Linked DNA regions of Homo sapiens: region 2 is linked to region 1. Evidence: promoter capture Hi-C in human tissues and cell types (Jung and others, 2019). All regions are on one chromosome and are shown on one strand. Each heading gives the region's core, a stretch centred on a gene start or on the middle of the fragment in contact. The rest is flanking DNA. Distances are from core to core; before and after follow the strand shown. Region 1 holds the start of PROCR (protein C receptor). Region 2 overlaps MMP24-AS1-EDEM2 (MMP24-AS1-EDEM2 readthrough).

What was found. Contacts are between HindIII fragments. The study calls those that stand out against the background at their distance.
Region 2: a contact is called between a fragment that was not itself captured here and the fragment with the promoter of PROCR in region 1, in 1 of the 25 tissues and cell types used here (aorta).

What each region holds. Positions count from the first base shown.
Region 1 is chr20:35,169,568-35,173,799 of GRCh38, reverse strand. It overlaps PROCR (protein C receptor), which reads right to left and starts at 1,728. Exons shown (of 4, transcript NM_006404.5): 1 at 1,576-1,728. The coding sequence starts at 1,645. The region is part of intron 4 of MMP24-AS1-EDEM2 (MMP24-AS1-EDEM2 readthrough); the gene reads left to right. The HindIII fragment of the contact is 10,554 bases long and covers 1-4,232 here.
Region 2 is chr20:35,132,260-35,136,491 of GRCh38, reverse strand. It overlaps MMP24-AS1-EDEM2 (MMP24-AS1-EDEM2 readthrough), which reads left to right. Exons shown (of 15, transcript NM_001355008.2): 10 at 1,543-1,754. EDEM2 (ER degradation enhancing alpha-mannosidase like protein 2) reads left to right here. Exons shown (of 11, transcript NM_018217.3): 6 at 1,543-1,754. Among named protein-coding and RNA genes, the nearest start is that of EDEM2, 13 kb to the left of the region's middle. RefSeq lists an enhancer at 1,921-3,120. The HindIII fragment of the contact is 9,994 bases long and covers 1-4,232 here.

The sequences.
Region 1 (4,232 bases), core at 479-2,978:
ATGTCAGGATTGCTCTGCCTCCCTTTTTCTGCCTGGCGAAGTTTATTCATGATTTAAGACCCAGCTCAGAGACTGGGCGCGGTGGCTCATGCCTGTAATCCCAGTACTTTGGGAGGCCGAGGCGGGCGGATCACTTGAGGTCAGGGATTCAAGACCAGCCTGGCCAACATGGCGAAACCCCATCTGTACTAAAAATACAAATATTAGCCAGGCGTGGTGGTACATGCCTGTAGTCCCAGCTACTCAGGAGGCTGAGGCAGGAGAATCGCCTGAACCTGGGAGTTGGAGGTTACAGTTAGCTGAAATTGTGCCACTGCATTCCAGCCTGGGTGACAGCACAAGACTCCATCTCAAAAAAAAAAAAAAAAAAAAAAAAGAAAAAAGAAAGAAAAGCAAAGAAAAAAAGACCCAGCTCAGTTGCCCTCTTCTTGGAAATTTTTTTCTGATGCCCCACGAGACACAGTGTGTCTGTTTCAGTGATCCCAGACCACCATATATTAGTGTGTATCTCACGGGATACTACCTGGCTGTCTCCAAACACACACAGGCCACACTGGACTCCTCTAGGCTATGGAACCATGCTTGGTAATCTCTGCTTCCTACACCCAGAAAAGAGGCTGGCACAGAGTTGATGCCCAGAGCACATTTGGATGAGTCCGGGGTTGTAAATCTGTGTGTGTGAGTGGGTCCTGTCTGTGTTTGCATTTGAGAAGTTGTGCTTTGTATCTGCAGATGTGAATAAGTATATTTATGGATAACCCTAGACATGGTCCTTAACTACTCTGTGACCCAGTTTCCTCCTCATAAAATGGAGATAGTAATAATATTACCCACCTTTAGGGGTTTGTGCAAGTTAAATGGGTCAATACATGTATTAACCATAGTGAGCACTCATTGAATACTGGTTATTATTTGCTGCCTCTCTGAGGGGGAGACTGAAGTTACGGGGATTGTGAGAGAGGGGAAAGGAGGCCCCTGTGCAATTATAATGGAGGGTAATAACTCCCTTTTCTGCTTAAACAGGGCCACTTCAGTAGCCTGATCGCCCATAAGTTCTATTAGGCACAGCATCTCTTTCTCCCCAGTTCCACCAGCTGCGACCAGTCTCCTTCCATTTTCCCTAGCCTCCCCTAACCTCTCTCTGCCCCACTCTTCCCCCACTTCTTCCATCAGTTTTCCCAGGGTCTTCCCATTCCCTCCATTTCTCTTCTCTTCTGAGCCTCTTCCCGTCTCCCCTAGATGTACCCCTATCTACCATCACCCTCAGTTCCCCTTTCTCCCCTCTCCCTGGGGCTGATTCTCCTACCCTCTCTGCTGGTTTCTTTCTCATGTTTCCAGTCATCCTGTTTCCCCTAGCCTCTTTCATCTCCCCCTTTTCAGGGGCTTAAATGTACTAACTCACCTTGGCTTTGGGACACGAACCAGTCCCCAAGACTCTGCCTGCCCTGTAGAGAGATCTAGCCAGCTGCAGACACAGATGCTGTGAGATAAGCTCTCCTGTGGTCTTGCCATGTGCCCAGATAGACTGAGATTCTCCAGAACCATCCTGAGGCAGGAGATGTGCCCCCGACTCACCATCTGAGGCGTCTTGGCTACAAAAGGCCCAGCCAGACAGCAGCAGTATCGGCAGCAATGTTGTCAACATCCTGAAGTTGAGGCTCCGGACCTGGGTTCCTGGCTCGGGCCGGCTGCGGGCTCCGCTGGCTGCAGTCTAGGGAAAAGAGAAGTGAGGACCGTCTGGGAGGGGCGGAGTCTGGGCAGAGGAGGATGGAAGGAGGCCAGGAGATGGGAGGAGGAAGAGGCTTATAAAGTGTTATTTCTACTGTGTCTCATTTCCTACTAGGGGGCCGGCCTCCCTCCTGCCCTCCCTCTGCCCCGCCCTTCATTGCTCCCTCCTGCCCAGACCTGCCTTTTCCCTTCTCCTTGGGCTGCTTCCTAGGAACCAGGAACAGGGAGCGGAAAAGGGGGAGAAGGGCTTGGTGAGAAGTCCTGCCGGCGCTGACTCAGGGGGTGGGGCATCTACTTTCAACTTAGAGCACACTCCTGGGAGTAGGATCAGCAGGTTGCTGATGGGGAGATTGAGGTCCAGAGAGGTGCAGGGACTTGCCCAAAGTTTATATATCATGGTGGTGACAGATCCAAGATTAAAATTTAGTTTTCCAGTATAATGGCTACATTTTACCAGAATTTTAAGTAAATAACAATTACATAATCCGGGATCTTGGTCTCAGAAGTAGTCATAAAATGAGTGTAAAGCAGTTCACTGCAGCATGTTTTTAAAAAATAGGAGAGAATTATGAGCAATCTGTATAAATCTCAGAAGATGATTGGTTACCTAAAGCAATCTTTTTGAAACTGAGGTCATAATTTATTAGTGGACAATGAAATCAATTTAGCAGGTCATGGTTACCATTTTTAAAAAATGAAATAGGACAGAATACAAAATTTCAGCGCGTCACCCTTAGTAAGAGAAAGTGTTATGTCATGAAATATTTGCTCAGTTGTATATGTGTGCTTTGGTTTTGTGTGTGTATGTTTCTATGATGAGTTTTGGATAGCAGTGTAAAATGCGTCCCTTACTCTAGGAAGCAAGTAGAAAAGCTTTAAAGTCACTCCTCCGAGCATGCTGCTGGCACTTTGGGAGGCCGAGGTGGGCAGATCACTTGAGGCCAGGAGTTTGAGACCAGCCTGGCCAATATGGCGAACGTCTCTACGAAAAATACAAAAATTAGCTGGGCATGGTGGTGCATGCCTGTAATCCCAGCTACTTGGGAGACCGAGGCATGAGAATCGCTTGAACCTGGGAGGTGGAGGTTGCAGAGGGCCGAGATCACACCACTGCATTCTAGCCTGGGTCATGCGGCAAGATTCTGTCTGAAAAAAAAAAAGAAAAGATTTCACTTCTGTTCAAATAATACATATGTAATTTCATCCTCATATATATATATAAAATTTATTATTATTTTTTTGAGACAGGGTCTAGCTCTGTTGCCCAGGCTATAGTGCAGTGAAGCAATCACAGCTAATTGTAGGCTTGACCTCCCGGGCTCAAGTGATTCTCCCACCTCAACCACCCGAGTAGCTGAGACTAAAGGTACGTGCCACTGTGCCACCACGCCTAGCTATTTTTTTTTATTTTTACTAGAGATGTGGTCTCGCTATGTTGCCCAGGCTGGTCTTGAACTCCTGCACTCAAGCAATCCTCTGGTATAGGCAGGAGCCACTGCACCTGGCCAAAATTAACTTTCAGTGTGTATCTGTGTATTTGTATATACATAGGGAAAATATCTGGAGGGGTACTGTCAATAGAGATTACCTCTGGGGAATAGGATTGGGTAAAGGACTGAGAGGGATTTTAACTTTTTATTTTATATACTTCTCCCCGGAGAGCTGACGTCATAGTGAAATCTGGGACAAACTCTGGACATAAACTAAGCACCCATTCTCTGAACTGAATATATGCAAGAGCTTCCATGCTCACCTCTCAGCTGTTGCAAACTGGCTAAGAAATAGCATCAAAGTCTTTTCTTTTTGCAGCTTATCAAAATGGTCTAGTTGGAACAAGGATAGGAACTTTGTTTTCCTGCACTGGGCCTCAGGAAAAGTAGAATGACTTAAATAACTACCAATTTATATTGTCTTGCCTTTTATTAAAAATTATGAAACATTTCTTTTTTCTTTTTTTTTTTCTTTTTTTTGAGATGGAGTCTTGCTGTAATGCAGTGGCGTGATCTCGGCTCACTGCAACCTCCACCTCCCAGATTCAAGCGATTCTCCTGCCTCAGCCTCCCAAGTAGCTGGGATTACAGTCACCTGCCACCACACCTGGCTAATTTTTGTATTTTTAGTAGAGATGGGATTTCACCATGTTGGCCAGGTTGGTCTCAAACTCCTGACCTCAGGTGATCCGCCCACTTCAGCCTCCCAACATGCTGGGATTACAAGCCTGAGCCACTGTGCACAGCCTGAAATATTTCATTTTTGAAGAGTTATTTCATGCTTAAAGGATTACATTTCAAACATACCTATCCCCACCACCAAGCATAAGAAATACAATATTGCTAATATAGTTGAAGCCCCCTATGGACTCTTCCTCAGCTGCATCTCTCTCTCCCTGCCACAGCCCCTGAAGTAACCACTTCAGATGAAAATGAAGATTTGATATTTTTCATTTCCTTATATTTCTGTATACTTACACTACTTATGTATATATCCCTAAACAATAGATAGTG
Region 2 (4,232 bases), core at 1,733-4,232, 39 kb after region 1:
AGCCACCACACCCGGCCTCTTTATCCTTCTCACATAGCACTTGCCTCTCCTTTGGGGGAGAGCTGAGGATAGCGGGTGAGCTAGGTTCAGGTCTCACTCATGGCTCATGGCTCATGGCTTGAGCGTCTCCTTGCAGACATTGTGTCCTGTGTGATTCATCCCTGGAGGAAACTCTGGAAACTCTGCCTAGCTGCTCCTCCTTTATAATTTAATTATTTTTGGTCATTGGTCATTTTATAAAAAAAGGTCAAGAAACAGGATTTTGTCACTCCTCTTCTTTTTATTACAGCCTGACTTTTTCTGAAATATTGCTTAGAGCCCTTCCTGGTTGTGACTTGCTCTCCCGCTGGTGCCTGCCAGATTGCAAGTTTCTTGTCTGTGGCAGACACAGTTGCTAGACCCTGTGGTTCTTGGAAGTGTCGACACCTTTGTTCACAGTTTGGTGACGCATAGGCTGCTCTGGAGTTGTTTGACCTTTAGGCCCAGAGAGGAAATCTCTGCCTCTGGCTGGTTGTCCAGTTCTCGTCTTGAACCAGAAGGCACTTGGGTGCCACTTGGGTGGGGCGGGCAGAGAACTGGACTGGGGCTGGGGTGGGCACAGGGGAGGCGTTCCCATCCCAGCTCTGTTTGACTCTCTCTGTGTGACCTGTGGCTGAATTACTTCTTTACAGGCATGGTTTTCCCTACCTATAAATCGAGGGTCATACTATATCCGTGGTTTAGTGGTTTATATCCTATTTTGCTTCCCTTTAAAAATAATTTAGCCCCTATACTCTTTATTTAAAGCAGAGATCTTTATTTAAAGTCTATGAATGGCTTTGTTTATTATTATTATTATTTTGAGACAGGGTCTCGCTCTGTCACCCAGGCTGGAGTGCAGTGGTGCAATCTCAGCTCACTGCAGCCCACGCCTCTTGGGTTCAAACGATTCTCGTGCCTCAGTCTCCCAGATAGCCAGAATTACAGGCGTGCACCACCACGCTTGCCTAATTTTTGTATTTTTAGTAGAAATAGGGTTTCACCATGTTGGCCAGGCTGGTCTCGAACTCCTGGCCTCAAGTGATCTGCCTGCCTTGGCCACCCAGAGTGCTGGGATTATAGGCGTGAGCCAAAAGTCTATGAATGGCTTTGAACGGGGCTTACTCTTGTCATTGTGCCACAAGCCCCACCACTTTCTGTGGCTTAAACCCTGCCTGCATCACAATAAGTTACCTGCCTGGGCTTTGAAGGCGTAGTGTAAAATAAATAAAAATAGGTAAAGCTCTCTAGCTAAAGCGAGTGTGTGTGGAGCACAGCCTGCTCCCTGCCCCCTCATGATGAGCAGGAACCCAAGGTTATGCAGAGCAGTGTTTGACAGCATCTGGGCTGGGTGGCTGCTCAGGGCCCTCCAGTTATGACATTTATCTTTCTCTGGCTCAGACTCTAGCAGGATACCCAGGAGAAAGAGGGAAGTGCTGGCTAAGGTCCCAGGCTTTGGGCGTGTATCAGAACTATCCCTATCCCCCTGCTCCTGTCCGGGATCATAATTTGTCGATTGTTCAGCCTTTCAGACCCCCACTGGCATGCCATATGGAACAGTGAACTTACTTCATGGCGTGAACCCAGGAGAGACCCCTGTCACCTGTACGGCAGGGATTGGGACCTTCATTGTTGAATTTGCCACCCTGAGCAGCCTCACTGGTGACCCGGTGTTCGAAGATGTGGCCAGAGTGGCTTTGATGCGCCTCTGGGAGAGCCGGTCAGATATCGGGCTGGTAGGTTCGCTGCTGCCCTTCCTGTTTGAGTCCCTGCTTACGAGGCCCAGGGCTCTGAGCAATAAGTTGCAGTCAAGCCAAGGAAAACTTAGGGTGACCTTGGGAGTGGTCCAGGATTTGGGCTCAGGACACCAAAAATAGACCAAGCCTCCAATTCAAGTTTGGCTTGGAGTGGGGAGGAGAGTGGGAAAGCACGTTTCTGGCAGGCAGCAGGGGCTGCATTCAGCTTTGACCAGTTGAGATTCTCTGATTTCTAGGAAGAGGGTCGTATGTTTCATGCCCCTGACTCACTTGACGGCTTCAGATCATCAGCTCGTCCGGCCTTCATTTTTAGCGTCTATCTGTATTTGCTGTGTTTCTTAGGACACCGGTTCTGAGAGATACTGAGTGGCAGTTGCATGAAAAAATGAGTCTTGGCCAATTAAGTTAGGGGAATATTAGATATAATATCCCCCCCTTTTTTGGAGAGTCAGAATGCACATGAGCAGAATAAAAATCCTCTAGTAAAGAAATCTATTCAACTTTGTTTAATTTAACATTTCCCAAACTTATTTAACACCAGAGCTTCCCTTTATCTTCCAGTACTATTAACCCATGGAAATTGAACACACTTTGGACCAGATGATCTCTAAGGTCAGTTTCAGCTTCTAAATGGGATAATCAATAAGATTAACAGTAATTGAGCCAAAGCCATCCAGGACATAACACTGGATTTAGTCAGAACTGGATTCAAGCCCTGGCCTTGCTACATCGAAACTGTGTGACCCTGAGCAAGTCACTCAACCTCTCTGGTCCTCAGTTACTTCAGCAGTAACGTTAATATATTAATACCAACTTTGCTGAGTCACTCTGACTTAGGAAGACTGCATTTAGGTCTAGGCACATTTTATGCAGTCTGGTGCTAATCCAGCTTGAAAAGTAAAGCTTGTGTGAGGACTCCCCGAAAATCCCTTAAGAAGGTGCCCCCCTAAGGCTGGGTGCGGTGGCTCACGCCTGTAATTCCAGCACTTTGGGAGACTGAGGCGGGCGGATCACCTGAGATTGGGAGTTCGAGACCAGCCTGACCAACATGGAGAAACCCCATCTCTACTAAAAAATACAAAATTAGCCGGGCGTGGTGGTGCATGCCTGTAATCCCAGCTACTTGGGAGGCTGAGGCAGGAGAATTGCCTGAACCTGGGAGGTGGAGGTTGGGATGAGCCGAGATCGCGCCATTGCATTCCAGCCTGGGCAACAAGAGCGAAACTCCATCTCAAAAAAAAAAAAAAGGTGCCCCGCTGGAGACCTGTAGTAAATCCCTTAGTCCATCTCAGGCAGGTTTTGCTCCAGCAGTGGGACCGTAGTAGACTCTGTTGGTGCCATGCCCATATCCTCTCAACTCTTAACATTTCCATGCACACTGGCCAGTCTTCCAACTGCCATCACCTGCGCCTCTTTGCCTGTGGGTCTCCTCTGGTGCCTGGAGCCACTCTGCTTGCCTTTGGCTGAGGGTACCAGGATTTAATGCTACCCATGAGTAGCTCTCAAGCCGGTAACTGATACTGATGGGAGTTGGTGGATAAACATTCCAGTTCCCTGCCCCTTGGGTGGGATCACTCCGAAGCTGGAGCTCTACACTGAATTCCTAAGCTCCCCAGCAAGATTGAACTCCAGTTCCCATGGTGGAAACCTGCCTGATGGCATACCCCTTAAATGCCGCCTCCCTTGCCCTGCCTCACTTCCCCCTCCTCTACTGGTGTTTACAAGGACTTACCTTCCAAATCAACTACTTTCAGGCAGAATGAGGTTGTGCTCCTGGGGGGACACAAACCAACGCGGAACAGTTAGCTATTTCTTTGAGTACCAGATGAAGTTACCAGCTTCCATGAGGGTCTAAGCCATATGAAAAATACATATATTTGGCTGGGCGCAGTGGCTCACGCCTGTAATCCCAGCACTTTGGGAGGCCAAGGCAGGCGTATCACCTGAGGTCGGGAGTTCGAGACCAGCCTGACCAACAGGGAGAAACCATGTCTCTACTAAAAATACAAAAAATAAAATAAATACAATAAAATAGAAAAATACGTATCTTTGTTTATTTTTTTGAGACAGAGTCTCCCCCTGTCGCCCAGGCTGGAGTGCAGTGGCACGATCTCGGCTCACTGCAACCTCCCCCTCTTGGGTTCAAGTGATTCTCATGCCTCTGCCTCCTGAGTAGCTGGGATTATAGGCACACACCACCATGCCTGGCTAATTTTTGTGTTTTTATTAGAGACAGGGTTTTACCATGTTGGCCAAGTTGGTCTCGGACTTCTGACCTCCAGTGATTTTGCCCCCCTCAGCCTCCCAACGTGCTGGGATTATAGGCATGAGCCACCGCGCCTGGCCGGCATTGCCAATTTTTCACAGTCTCTACAGAGACTGAACAATTAAAAAAAAAAAAGTCAAAGGATACAAAAAAGGGTACTCAGTGACATTGGTGAAGTCCCCTTTTGCCCC